Regions from separate parts of the Homo sapiens genome. Here region 1 is linked to region 2. The links are contacts of gene promoters, found by promoter capture Hi-C in blood cells and fetal thymus (Javierre and others, 2016). All regions are on one chromosome and are shown on one strand. The core of a region is centred on a gene start or on the middle of the fragment in contact, and the rest is flanking DNA. Distances in the headings are between cores, read along the strand shown.

The links. The method cuts DNA at HindIII sites, captures the fragments that hold promoters and counts their contacts. A CHiCAGO score of 5 or more calls a contact.
Region 1: the fragment with the promoter of RHOG here is called in contact with a fragment that was not itself captured in region 2 in 2 of 17 cell types (fetal thymus and activated CD4 T cells); the score reaches 8.6 in fetal thymus.

What each region holds. Positions count from the first base shown.
Region 1 is chr11:3,837,260-3,842,863 of GRCh38, reverse strand. It overlaps RHOG (ras homolog family member G), which reads left to right and starts at 1,905. Exons shown (of 2, transcript NM_001665.4): 1 at 1,905-1,970. It overlaps LOC124902619 (a long non-coding RNA gene), which reads right to left and starts at 5,587. Exons shown (of 2, transcript XR_007062560.1): 1 at 5,172-5,587; 2 at 4,589-4,797. RefSeq lists silencers at 965-1,014, 1,055-1,324, 1,675-1,724, 1,775-2,164 and an enhancer at 3,565-3,764. The HindIII fragment of the contact is 3,094 bases long and covers 969-4,062 here.
Region 2 is chr11:2,987,509-2,992,895 of GRCh38, reverse strand. NAP1L4 (nucleosome assembly protein 1 like 4) reads left to right here and starts at 567. Exons shown (of 16, transcript NM_005969.4): 1 at 567-642. RefSeq lists enhancers at 303-597, 1,142-1,998. The HindIII fragment of the contact is 489 bases long and covers 2,309-2,797 here.

The sequences.
Region 1 (5,604 bases), core at 656-3,155, 850 kb before region 2:
AGCACTTTGGGAGGTTGAGGCGGGCAGATCACGAGGTGAGGAGTTCAAGACCAGCCTGGCCAACATGGTGAAATCCTATCTCCATTAAAAATACAAATATAAGCCAGGCATGGTGGCACGTGCCTGTAATCCCAGCTACTTGGGAGACTGAGGCAGGAGAATCATTTGAACCCAGGAGGCGGAGGTTGCAGTGAGCAGAGACCGCGCCACTGCAGTCCAGCCTGGTGACAGAGCGAGACTCCATCTCCAAAAAAAAAAAAAAAAAAAAAAAAAAGATAATACTTTGGCTATGGCTAAGTCAAATATAGTTAAAATTCATTTCGTTTCTTTTTACTTTTTTTGAAATGTCATTAATAGACAGTTTTAAATTACTTACGTGGTTCCTATTTATTTTTTTAAAAATATAAGTAGGCTGGGTGTGGTGGCTGACGCCTGTAATCTCAGCACTTTGGGAGGCCAAGGCAGGTGGATCAACTGAGATCAGTAGTTCGAGACCAGCGTGGCCAACAGGGTGAAACCCCGTCCCTACTAGAAATACGAAAATTAGCCGGGTGTGGTGACATGCACCTGTAACCCCAGCTACTCGAGAGACTGAGGCAGGATAACTGCATGAACCTGGGAGGCAGAGATTGCAGTGAGCCGAGATCGTGCCACTGCACCCCAGCCTGGGTGACATCGTGAGACTGTCAAAAAATATGTGTGTGTTTGTGTTTATAGAGACAAGGTTTCACCATCTCTGTAATTACAGGCAGACGCCACCGCGCCAGACTCTTAGGGTATGATATTTTTAAAAGATATTTGTTTAGTGTTTGAGATACGCATTGACAACAGGTCTTTTACACCCATTCTCATGTTATCTTCAAAACTACGGGGTGAAATATAATTATTCTATTTTACCAAAGACAGATTTGAGGCTCAGAAAGGTTAAGCTATTTATTCCTGGAATCAATCCGTTTATTTGAAAAGCTTCTGGAAGACAGGGATCCTGTCTTAAACGCTGTGTTTCTTCACAGCACCTAGCACTTAGCTCTCTCCACGTGGTAGGCGCTCAGAAACTTTGTGCTGAACGAAGGATATGGATTCTCAAGTCAAAGCTCCGAGCGCAAAGCCAGGGAGCGAAGCACCAGAGGGCGCCCATGAGCCCGCCCACCCGCGGGTCGCCGGGGCCCAAGCTGGACCTCAGGCCTGGGTGCGGCTCTTCAGCCCCAAGCAGCTGCGCGCCCCAGCAGAACAGGGGGCGAGGGGGCGAGGGAAGCCCCAAGTCCTCCGTCCGCCCCGCCCCCTCCCCAGAGCCAGGCCTCGCAGGGCTGCACGGTGCTGAATGACGACTCGACATCCTGTTTTTGGGGCCCGCGGCTCCGCCTGCGCCTCTGCTGATCTTGTCTTTCCCTTGGGTGCTGACGCCAGCTCCTCTTCCCCCCGAGTCTCCCCACCCTCCCCAGGGGTCTGGGGCCTTCCCACTGCTGAATCACCACCACCTCGCACTCCCCCGGGGCTCAGGGCAGGGGCGGGGACTGCCCCAGCCTCGGCCACCACTCTATCCCTGGGGTTGACTGAAGGGACCAGGCCCAGGGGCGCCTTTCTCAGCATCTTCCCGCGGAGGCTGGTGGGGGCGGGATGGGGGGAAGAGGACGAACGCCTAGCGCCCAGGGTAGGGCCTCCAGGGGTAGGGTGGCCAGGAGGAGGCGGAGAGACTTGACCTTGGGAGGCCTGACTTACTGACCGCAGGGGCAGCGGACTGGGAGGGGAACGTGGCAAGCCCGGGACTGGGCCGGGGGCGAGGCTGGGGGCGGGCCGGGGCTGGAGAGGGGGAGATCGGCCCTCGGACTTCCTGGTCGGGCCCCGCCCCGGCCCGCCCCGCCTCGCCGGCCCGCCCCCCCCACTTCCTCCGGCCTCCCGCTCTCACTTCCTTCTCGAGCCCGGAGCCGCTGCCGCCGCCCCCAGCTCCCCCGCCTCGGGGAGGGCACCAGGTGAGGCCCGGCCGGGGCTGGCGGGTAGGGGTCCGGGGGAGGAGAGCCCGGCCGGCCCAGGACTCGGCGCGGGCGCCGGCTCATGAGTTTGCTGGCGGAGGCCGCGGGCGGGAGCTTCTCGGTTCAGTCCAAGTAGGGCGGGCGCGGCCGGCCGGGCGGGGCGGGAACGGGGCCACTGCGAGCCGGCGGAGGCTCGGCGAGGGTGGCTTCCCGGCGGCTGTACCGCCTCTAGGGAGCCGAGAGGGACCCCTGAGGTCGGAGGGTCCCGGGCTCCAAGATAAGTGTCTCTGAAGTGGAAGAGCTCAGAGCTGGGAGATCGGACGCAGGTGGGGTGTCCTCAGAAGTTGGTGGGGGGGGTGTTGAGAAGTGCGTGAGGGGAGAGGGCTTCTGGGCTGGAAAAGGCGCTCCCTCTGCTCTGGCAGTTGTGACACTTGGGGTGAGAGGGGCGGTGTCTGGGGCCTCCGAAAGCTCTCTCCCTGTCAGATGGATGCTAATACAGACCCACACTCGGTCTGCAGCCCCAAGGCCCTCTGCACTCAGGAGGACCCGGGTTGGGTGGGGGAGCCCCGCCGACCCCAGTCGTTGTCTGTATGTCTGTTTTCCTGAGTCCCGACCTTACCTGGAGCCAAGCAGTAGGTATTTAGTGAGCAGACGCTGTTCCTAGCTGACCAGAGCCTGGCCTTGCTCTTTTGGGAGTAACTTGGTCTTGCCCTGTAACTGGAAGTGGAAGGACTCTCATTCAGAGGTACTGATAGTCCCTGACAAGTTTTTGTTGTGTCTTTTGGGGACAATTGAGAACCATCTCCTAGTGTTCCTCTTCATTCTTAGTCCCTGAATTATACACATGCTCCTGTCGTCTCCCTCCACACCTTCTTTAGTTTCTACCCACAAATCCGCCATCACTCTCTTCTCATCCCTTCCAGTCTCTTTTCCTCCAAACATACGGTCATACCTAGGCCTTGACCTGTCTTCACCTACCCTGCCCCATGTTCGTCTTGGTCCTCTGCAACCTGCCCCATCCCTTCCCTTCCCAGCTCTGGCACCCACACACATGCACCTCCTGGTTTCTTCCATCACCCCTCATTCCTTTTGAACCCTCAGCCTGTCACCCTCTCTGTATCCTTCCCTCCCACCCACTTATCTCCAGCTTTGGAATCAGTTGTTGAAGACTTAGTGAGTTCTAGAGTCTTTTCAAACCTCCCTAGCTTGGAGAGGCAGTCTGCAGCCTCCCAGTGATAGAGACGGATTAAAGAGCTGGAAAGCCTGTGTGTGTGTGTGTGTGTGTGTGTGTTTGCGTGTGTGTTCGCACGCGCGTGTCTGTGTATCTACATCTTCATCTCTTAGAGATGGATTAAAGAGATGGAAAGCCTGTGTGTGTGTGTGTGTGTGTGTGTGTGTGTGTGTGTGTTCGCGCGCGCGTGTCTGTGTGACTACATCTTTATCTCTTACAGACAAAATAACTGCCCTCAGCCTTGAGAGGGCCCAGAGCAAGGGAAGCCAGCAGAATGAAGGGAACCTGCAGTGAGTGAGGTTGTGGTTAGGCAGGAGGAAGCCGTTTGTAGCAGTCAGGGTAGGGTGACACAGGAATAAGACTTGTAAGAGAGGCCGTGGGAAATCAAAATCACCCCAACCCGTGGTGCTTGACCAAGAGGCCAGGCCTAGAAGCCGGAAGACAGCCTGAAGGTCCCTGACTCCATTACCTACTAGTTCCAGCATCACCTGGTGGAAAGAATGGGACCAGCTTGGGTGTGATGGAAATAAAGGGAGGAGGCAAATGCAGGATTCTGGAGGAAAGACTGCAGCTGGTCTAACTTCGGACTTAAGAAGCGGCGGAGGCAAAAGTGTCTGCTCCTTTCCTGCTACCTTCTGGGGCCTGCCTAGGCTGGGTACCCGCATGCCCTGATCTGCATCAGGGCCTTAGTGACCAGGAAGCCCTCTGGAGTTCTACTGACCCCTCTGCCTTCAGGCATCCTTAATACTCCCCATCTCACCTAGGACCCTATTCCTTCTCAGGAATTCCTCCCAAATTTAACTTCAGTCCATCCTGGCTATGGAGGCTCTTGTTTCCACTCTAGAGCTCCATCCTCAAGCTTTTGGGGTGCATCTGAGGATCTTGCTCCTGTCTACCTCCTCTAGTCATCTGTATTCATTTCTCTCCACTAGAAAAAAAGAGAAGTAGAGGGGAGTAAGTGCTACAGCTAAATTTAAGGGCTCTCCCTGTTCCCCATTCTGTCATCTTCCCATGTCACAGTCGTCCCTCTCCCATGAATTGTTCTTCTTCCAGTCCTGCCCTTCCAACCACTTGTCTCTCTTCCCATTTCTTGGAGGTACAGAAGTTTGGGTCCGGGAAGAAATCCCAGGGACCTACATAAGAGCCCAGGTTAGAGAAGGATGTGCATACAAGGCACTTTCCCAGCATCACAGCTTAATAAAAACCCCAGGAGTCCCAGTTCCTAGGCTGGCAAACCAGTAGTTACTTTAGTATTCTGCGTAACTGAGCAAACCCACAGGGCTCTGATGGTAAAGACAAGATGGGTGAGACAGGGATTCTCCCAGGTGAGATCTGGCCCCATTGGAAGTTTGAGCTAATTGCAAAAAAGGCATCATTGGAAAAAATGTGACCAGGGCGGGAGAGATTTTAATGGGAAAATATTGGGGGGTAAAGGGAGGTGGTGGCTACAACCTAGGAGGCTGCCGCTGAAGTCTTGGCTAAACAGGTATGGTCAAGGTTGTGACATGAAGAAGGGGGCTCAGGCCCACACTGAAGACTCCTTCTATATACTGTAGACCCATTAGTGGTGAGGTCAGTAGGGGTCCGTGACAAGAGCTGAGGAGGGAAACCAAAGACAAAGCCTGGGCCACCTCCCCAGATCAGACTGGTTTTCCTGTCCAGGGTCCAGCTTCCTCTTTTGTCCTCATCTCATATGGGGGGAGGGCATCTCTCCAGGAGCTAGAGGCCAGAGGAGGAGCTTCTCAGCTAGGGCAGGGCCAGAGTGGCTGGCTATTGAGTAATGTCAGTGCTAAATCATGAATGCACCAGGATGGGCTAGGCATGAGAGCCTGGGAACTTGGAAGCAAAAAGGCTCAGATGTAAGTCAACCCACCCTTTGGCCCATTTTCTGAAGGAATAAACCATGGTAGCGTTCTCCTGAATGAGGTTAAAGAGATGGCCCATTCTCAGGCCAGAGTTAGAATCCTCACCTTCTCTCCTTTGTAGAAGTAGCATAAGGGTGGAGGCTAGAAGATCCGGATCCTTGTCGTAGATTTGCTACCTGGTCAACTTGGTTTCTCTTGGCTCTATTTTAGCATTAAGGAGTTGCATATCAGTACCTCCAAAGGCAACAGTGAACATCATGGCTCTGACTCTTCCTCCCCCAAGAGACTGCTCATAGCAGTGCCCCTCACTCTGGGCCCTTGTGTCTTACCAGCCTCAATTTGACAGGTCCGAGTAGTCTGTACATACATATCTGTCCAGGGATAGTACTGCCCTTTCCCCAAGCACAAGGACTGTTAGAGCTTGAGAGATAAGAAGGCAGAGAATGTTGGGGATTTTGCCAGGGGGTAGTAAGATGGGGGAGTACCCTGTCTCCTACTCCAGCTCTGCCTCACTGACAGTGGAAAATAGATGCCGGAG
Region 2 (5,387 bases), core at 1,304-3,803:
AACCTGGGACCTGGGGGATGAGCGGGGGTTAGGCTTACGTCCCAACCACTAACGGGGCTGGTTGAAAACGGCTCCCAGGCGGAGGGGCCCTCCGCGATGTTCTCAAGGAGTAGCGCGAGGGGACGACATGGGAGGTGGGGTTCTCACATCAGCGGGCGCACGGAGTGCTGGAGGCACCGACCCGCCGCGGACGGGATTGAACTAGGGAACTGGGAGGGCGCAGGAGATAAAGACGGCTGGGGCCGGGGCCCACGGAGAGGGGTGGTGCCCAGTGTCCCGCGAGGATGTGGTGCCACCCGGGGAAGGTCCCGGGAGCGGGGACCCGGGACCCCCCGGAACCACACACGCGGTCTCCACCTTGCCCCGCCCCATTTAAAGAGGCGGAGGAACGCAGGGCGCGCGCCGCGCGGAGGAATATTTGCATATGGCGCGGCGTTTCTTCGGAGGCTTGTGATTGGTTGCTGACTGCGGCGCGAAGCGCAGTTGACTTGCGCCGCGCTCGGCGAATCGCAGCCTGTCTTGCTCGCGGAGAGAGGAGCTAGGAGCCTCGGCCAATGGGAGCCGGCGTTGTTGGAGGCCACGGCGGCGCAGCCCCAAAGCGAGCGAAGCTAGGGTCGCCGCCACTGCCGCAGGAGGCGTGAGGTGCGGAGACACGGGTGCTGGGCCGGTAACGGCGCGCTGGGGAGGGCGGCCGGGCCCGGACGGGCGGGTGGGGCCGCGGGTCCGGCGCGGGCGCGGCGGCGGCCATCTCTGGAAGCCTCGGGGCGGTGGGGCAGGGGCGGGGCCGCGTTCTGGTCGGGGCAGGCAGCGGCGGCCGCGGCGGGGCCTGGGGCTTGGGGCCTGGAGCCCGGGCCTGGGGCGCTGGCGGGAGGCCCCTCCCAACTCCCGGCGCGCCTCGCCCGGCTGCCCGCCTCACTGAAGGTCAAGGCGCTTTGTTCTGCGCCGCGGGCGGCCTCCTGGGCGGCGGCCCCTTGGAGGAGGCGAAGACGGCGAGAGGCGGCGGCCGCTCAAATCTCCCGCTAGCCCAGCCCGCCCCGCGTGCGGGGGCTGTGGCGGTTACACGGCCGGGCGCGCCGGAGCGTTCAGGCTTCCCGTTTTTAAGGTGGAGACGTCCAGGACTTCTTTATTAGATGTTTAGGAATTTGAGTTTTTCCGTAGGGCGGTTGTCATCGTGAGCCTCTGTGGGGTCAGGCTGGGCTAACTGGGGTTTTGATGTCAGTTTGGTGTGGCCGAGGGCATGTCTGACGGGGAAGAAAGTCCTTGGCGTTGCTTCTTAGCTGTTGGGAGCTGTGCGGTGGGAGCGAGCTGGGCGGCGTGCGCTCCCCGAGGACTGGCCTGAGTGGCCTTAGACTAGTTACTCACGGGACTTGGTTTCCCAGCCAAGGTGGGCAGCAAGTCTGTTTACTATTTAAAACCGTCTTTCACAAGGGAAAAGCAAAATCTCCAAAAAAAAAAATTGTACATGTTATGGATGGGAAAGTGCCATGCTTTTCTTTCAGTTCAGAGATGGTGGAAGAGGTCACATTTGTATTTTTTGACCTGACCAGAGTCTTTGTTGTTTTCAATTTTCCCCTTCTGAATGCTTTCCGTTCACCCCAGCGAAGGATGGCCTGGTCATGATAAGACTTTCCACCGTCCACAGTTCTCTAAGTCTGATTGCGGGGCAGGAGGCAGACATGTTTAGGGTCCAGTAAAGGGGACTCCAGCCTTGGGACCTTTAGACCCTAACGTGTGTGTCACATCACCTGCCTGGGTGACTGTGCGCTCCTCTGGCAGGAAGGTCCGCCATTTCATTATGTTCTCGGAGGAATCGTCGGGGCACATTCGTCTGTGCTTTGGTTCGCATCCCCCAGTCTGCATTACTTTTTCCTGTAGTAACCCGTGCCTTATCCTCCTGCATTAGGTTTACGGGGTGAAAATAGACTTTTAAAAATTCTCTTACCTTAGAAATATACAAATATGTAGATTAGGTTGTTGGACCTTAAAGGTAAGTCTTTCTAAGTTACTACCTTCCTGTAATAGTAACTATACCTCTAAATGACTAATACCTGCACTGCGCACCAGGGACTCTTTCAGCCTGTTTGCGTGTGTTAACTCATTTCATAATCTAATAACCTGAGATAGATGCTATTGTTTTTCCATTTAACTACTCTGGAAGCTGAGGCCCTGGGAGGTTAGGTATAATGACTTGTCCGAGGTGACAAAGCTTAAAGACCCAGGCAGTTTTAACTGTACCCAGGGTTACTGCTTCTGTAGAGGGAATGAAAGAAGTTTTAATGAGAAATTGTTTTCATCATTGTGCTAAGCTTAACTGAACTCTAGCTTACGAGGTTTTGAGCTGGTTGATCATTTCCATCTCAAAATTCTCTTATTCCACAGAATGCCAAATGCCTCCTATAGTAGAATTTTGAGATTCAGACTGGGATGAGCAATTGCTAATGGAATAAATAATATGCAAATGTAAAATGAAGTTCAGAGAAAGCAACGTGGTGATAGAATGGGAAAGTAATCCAAAGATAAAATGAGTGACTACAGAGAGAGAGAAAATTAGTTATTTAGTAGTAGTTCACAAGTTTACTTAGAGATATTTTTACTAGAATTTCAGGGCCTTATGATGTGATTTTTATGAACCATTTTAACACGTTACTGCCGTCTTAAATAGCTGTTATTACATATCCAATTGCAGTCTTTTTTTTTTCCTGGTTGAGCAGTGTTAGCTTCAGAATGTCTGCAGTTATTTGTGCCTATATGTCATATAGGCACATATAACACTTTTGTGAATTTTGTTGTGTAAGCTTTAAATCCGGTACTGTTTTTCAAAATGAATATGGAGTAGTCATTGGAGAAATTGGTTGAATTCTTTGCAGTAGCAAATAAATTTTAATCATTTTTAAGTTTGATAACTTTGGTAAACTGAATTCTGAAAAGTTTACACATGTTTTAGGATGTCCTCAAAATGTACAGGGCATTGTGTTTTGCAAATTAGCCATTTAGCCATCAGATTCTTCTGTAGAATTTTGATCTTTTTGCCCATATGAGAGGTAGTTCTTATTTGTATGGAGGTTAAGTACCTGCGGATGGGATGTGTTCATCACCACTTTACAGTATGAATTTGAATTTGAAACTGAAATGAAAACTTCCTAACCTGTCAGAGTTTTTAGTAGCCTCTTGTTATTGACCGCATGTTAATTCCCTTTGTTAGCTATTCGCAGCTAAGTGTGGGGACTGAAATCTTTATTTTGTTTTCCTTCTTTTGAGCAGTTGATAGTCTCTAGCATCAGGAGGAGGTGACCTCAAATATGTATGTATATATAGTAGTGCTTTTCTTCCTTCCCTTTAGTTGTCTGCAGTTTAAAAATTATTGTGATAAGTTTATGTTGTACTTCCAAAAATGTTGCCAAAGAGCCTATATTTTTCAGTTTGTTTTGGAAGAAAAATACTTTGTGGGCAAGAAGGTGATTTAAATTCCTGACGGCCTAAGAGGCGTCAGCTGTGTGAAATAGGCGAGTGCTGTTACTGCTTGAAACCATGATGGTTTATATTTGAATAAGACAGCAGAGATGAGCTTGTTGGGAGTTTGGCCTGAGATTGCTAGCTAAGGAATGCTTGCTTTTTTGCTTAAAGGGAAAAGTGTTTTAGGCTTCCAGAGTAGAAATCTGATATTACTTCGTTTGATTCTTCGACCACTATGGTGATAGGAAGTAGCTGATCTCTGCAGGAAACTGCTGTTACCTGGCCTCAGCTGAATTTTTGTGGGACCTCCTGAGGTAAGCAAATTTATGCCTCCCGAAACTATAGTTGTAAGGTTTGTCTTTGAGCATATAGTAATGGAAAACCCTTATCAGTAGGTAGATAGTAAATAATTTTGTATTTGGCTGCTAATGAAATTTTTAAGAAATAGTTTGTGGTGATATAAATTAGTTTTCATCTGGCAGTCATTGGTTTTCCACCCTGCCCTCTTAAGAGAGAACAGGGTTGCTTTACTTTGTTTGCCAGAGCTTTACATTTTGCATTTAGTAACAGAGGCATTGTGTTTTTATAGTATGAAAACAACGAAAGATCACTTTGTGATCTTTACTTTTTGATTTTGACCACTTCCTGTGTAACCTTAAGTTTCTTACAAGTATCCCCTGTTAACTGTTAAAAACGAAATGTATGTTCATTTCATGTCCTTGGGACTTTTAAAAATGCGCTGTGCATTATCTGGAAAAGCCTGTTCAAAAACAAGATGAGATAATTTCTGTTTAATTTGTGGTAGAAAGAATGACTGTGCACTTTTATGTGCAAAGGTTTTAAGTATAATAATTAAAATAGTACTTGTTTACTCAGTTACCGAAAAGTAGCTTTCAGTGATTTGCATCTGTTTACTTATTCATGAGCATCTTCTATGTACTGGGCACAGTTCTAGGTACTGGGGCCTCCCGCAGAATAAAACAGAAGTCTTTGTCCTTGTTTCTGCTATGGGAGACAGACGAACAAGTTCAATGGTGGCAGGTGCTTTTGAAAAACAGTGCAGAGGAGTAGGGACTTTGGTGGTTGCAATATGAAATAGGTAGAGAGGGAAGTGCCTTATTGACAAGATGACAAGATCTTTTAATATGTACTGGATTAAGAAGTTAGCCTCATTGAGTCGTATGCTAATGAACTGCCCAGAAAAGAAGGGTGGAGGAGATGGGAGTGCAGCAGTAAAGACTGCTGCGCCCCAAGTAAAATGTAGTGTTTTGGTTAAGGAAAGGAAATCATTTTTTGCTTTCTTCTTGAAACCCCAGGGCTTGGCACCGCAGAAGTCTCTGAAGAGACAGTCTGCTGCTGTTTGGAGGCAGGTATTTCAGTAGATCTTGTAACCAAACATGAATGACTAAGGCAGTGTTTCTCCTCTGTGTCTTCAGAAACTGCTTGAGATGTGTGCATGCAGTCCCGGGCACCATGCGTGCTGGGTACTGGTAACACAGAGACAAGTTGTCATTTGGTAGCAGTGAGTTAAGCAAAGATTTCTTGGCAACCAGTCTCATCCCGAGTCTGTTGCTGGGCCTTGGGACTTCTGTATTGAGCAAGTAGACAGGGTCCCTGCCCTCGTGGAACTTGTTCTTTAGTGGGCAAACATGTATTATTCATTGCTTTTTTTTTTTTTTTTTTTTTGAGGTGGAGTCTCGCTCTGATGCCCAGGCTGGAGTGCAGTGGCGCGATCTCGGCTCACTGCAGCCTCTGCCTCCCAGGTTCAAGCAATTCTCCTGTCTCAGCCTCCCAAGTAGCTGGGATTACAGGTGCTCACCACCACGCCTGGGTAATTTTTGTATCTTTTTAGTAGAGACGGGTTTCACCATATTGGTCAGGCTGGTCTCGAACTCCTGACCTCAGGTGGTCTGCCCACCTGGGCCTCTCAAAGT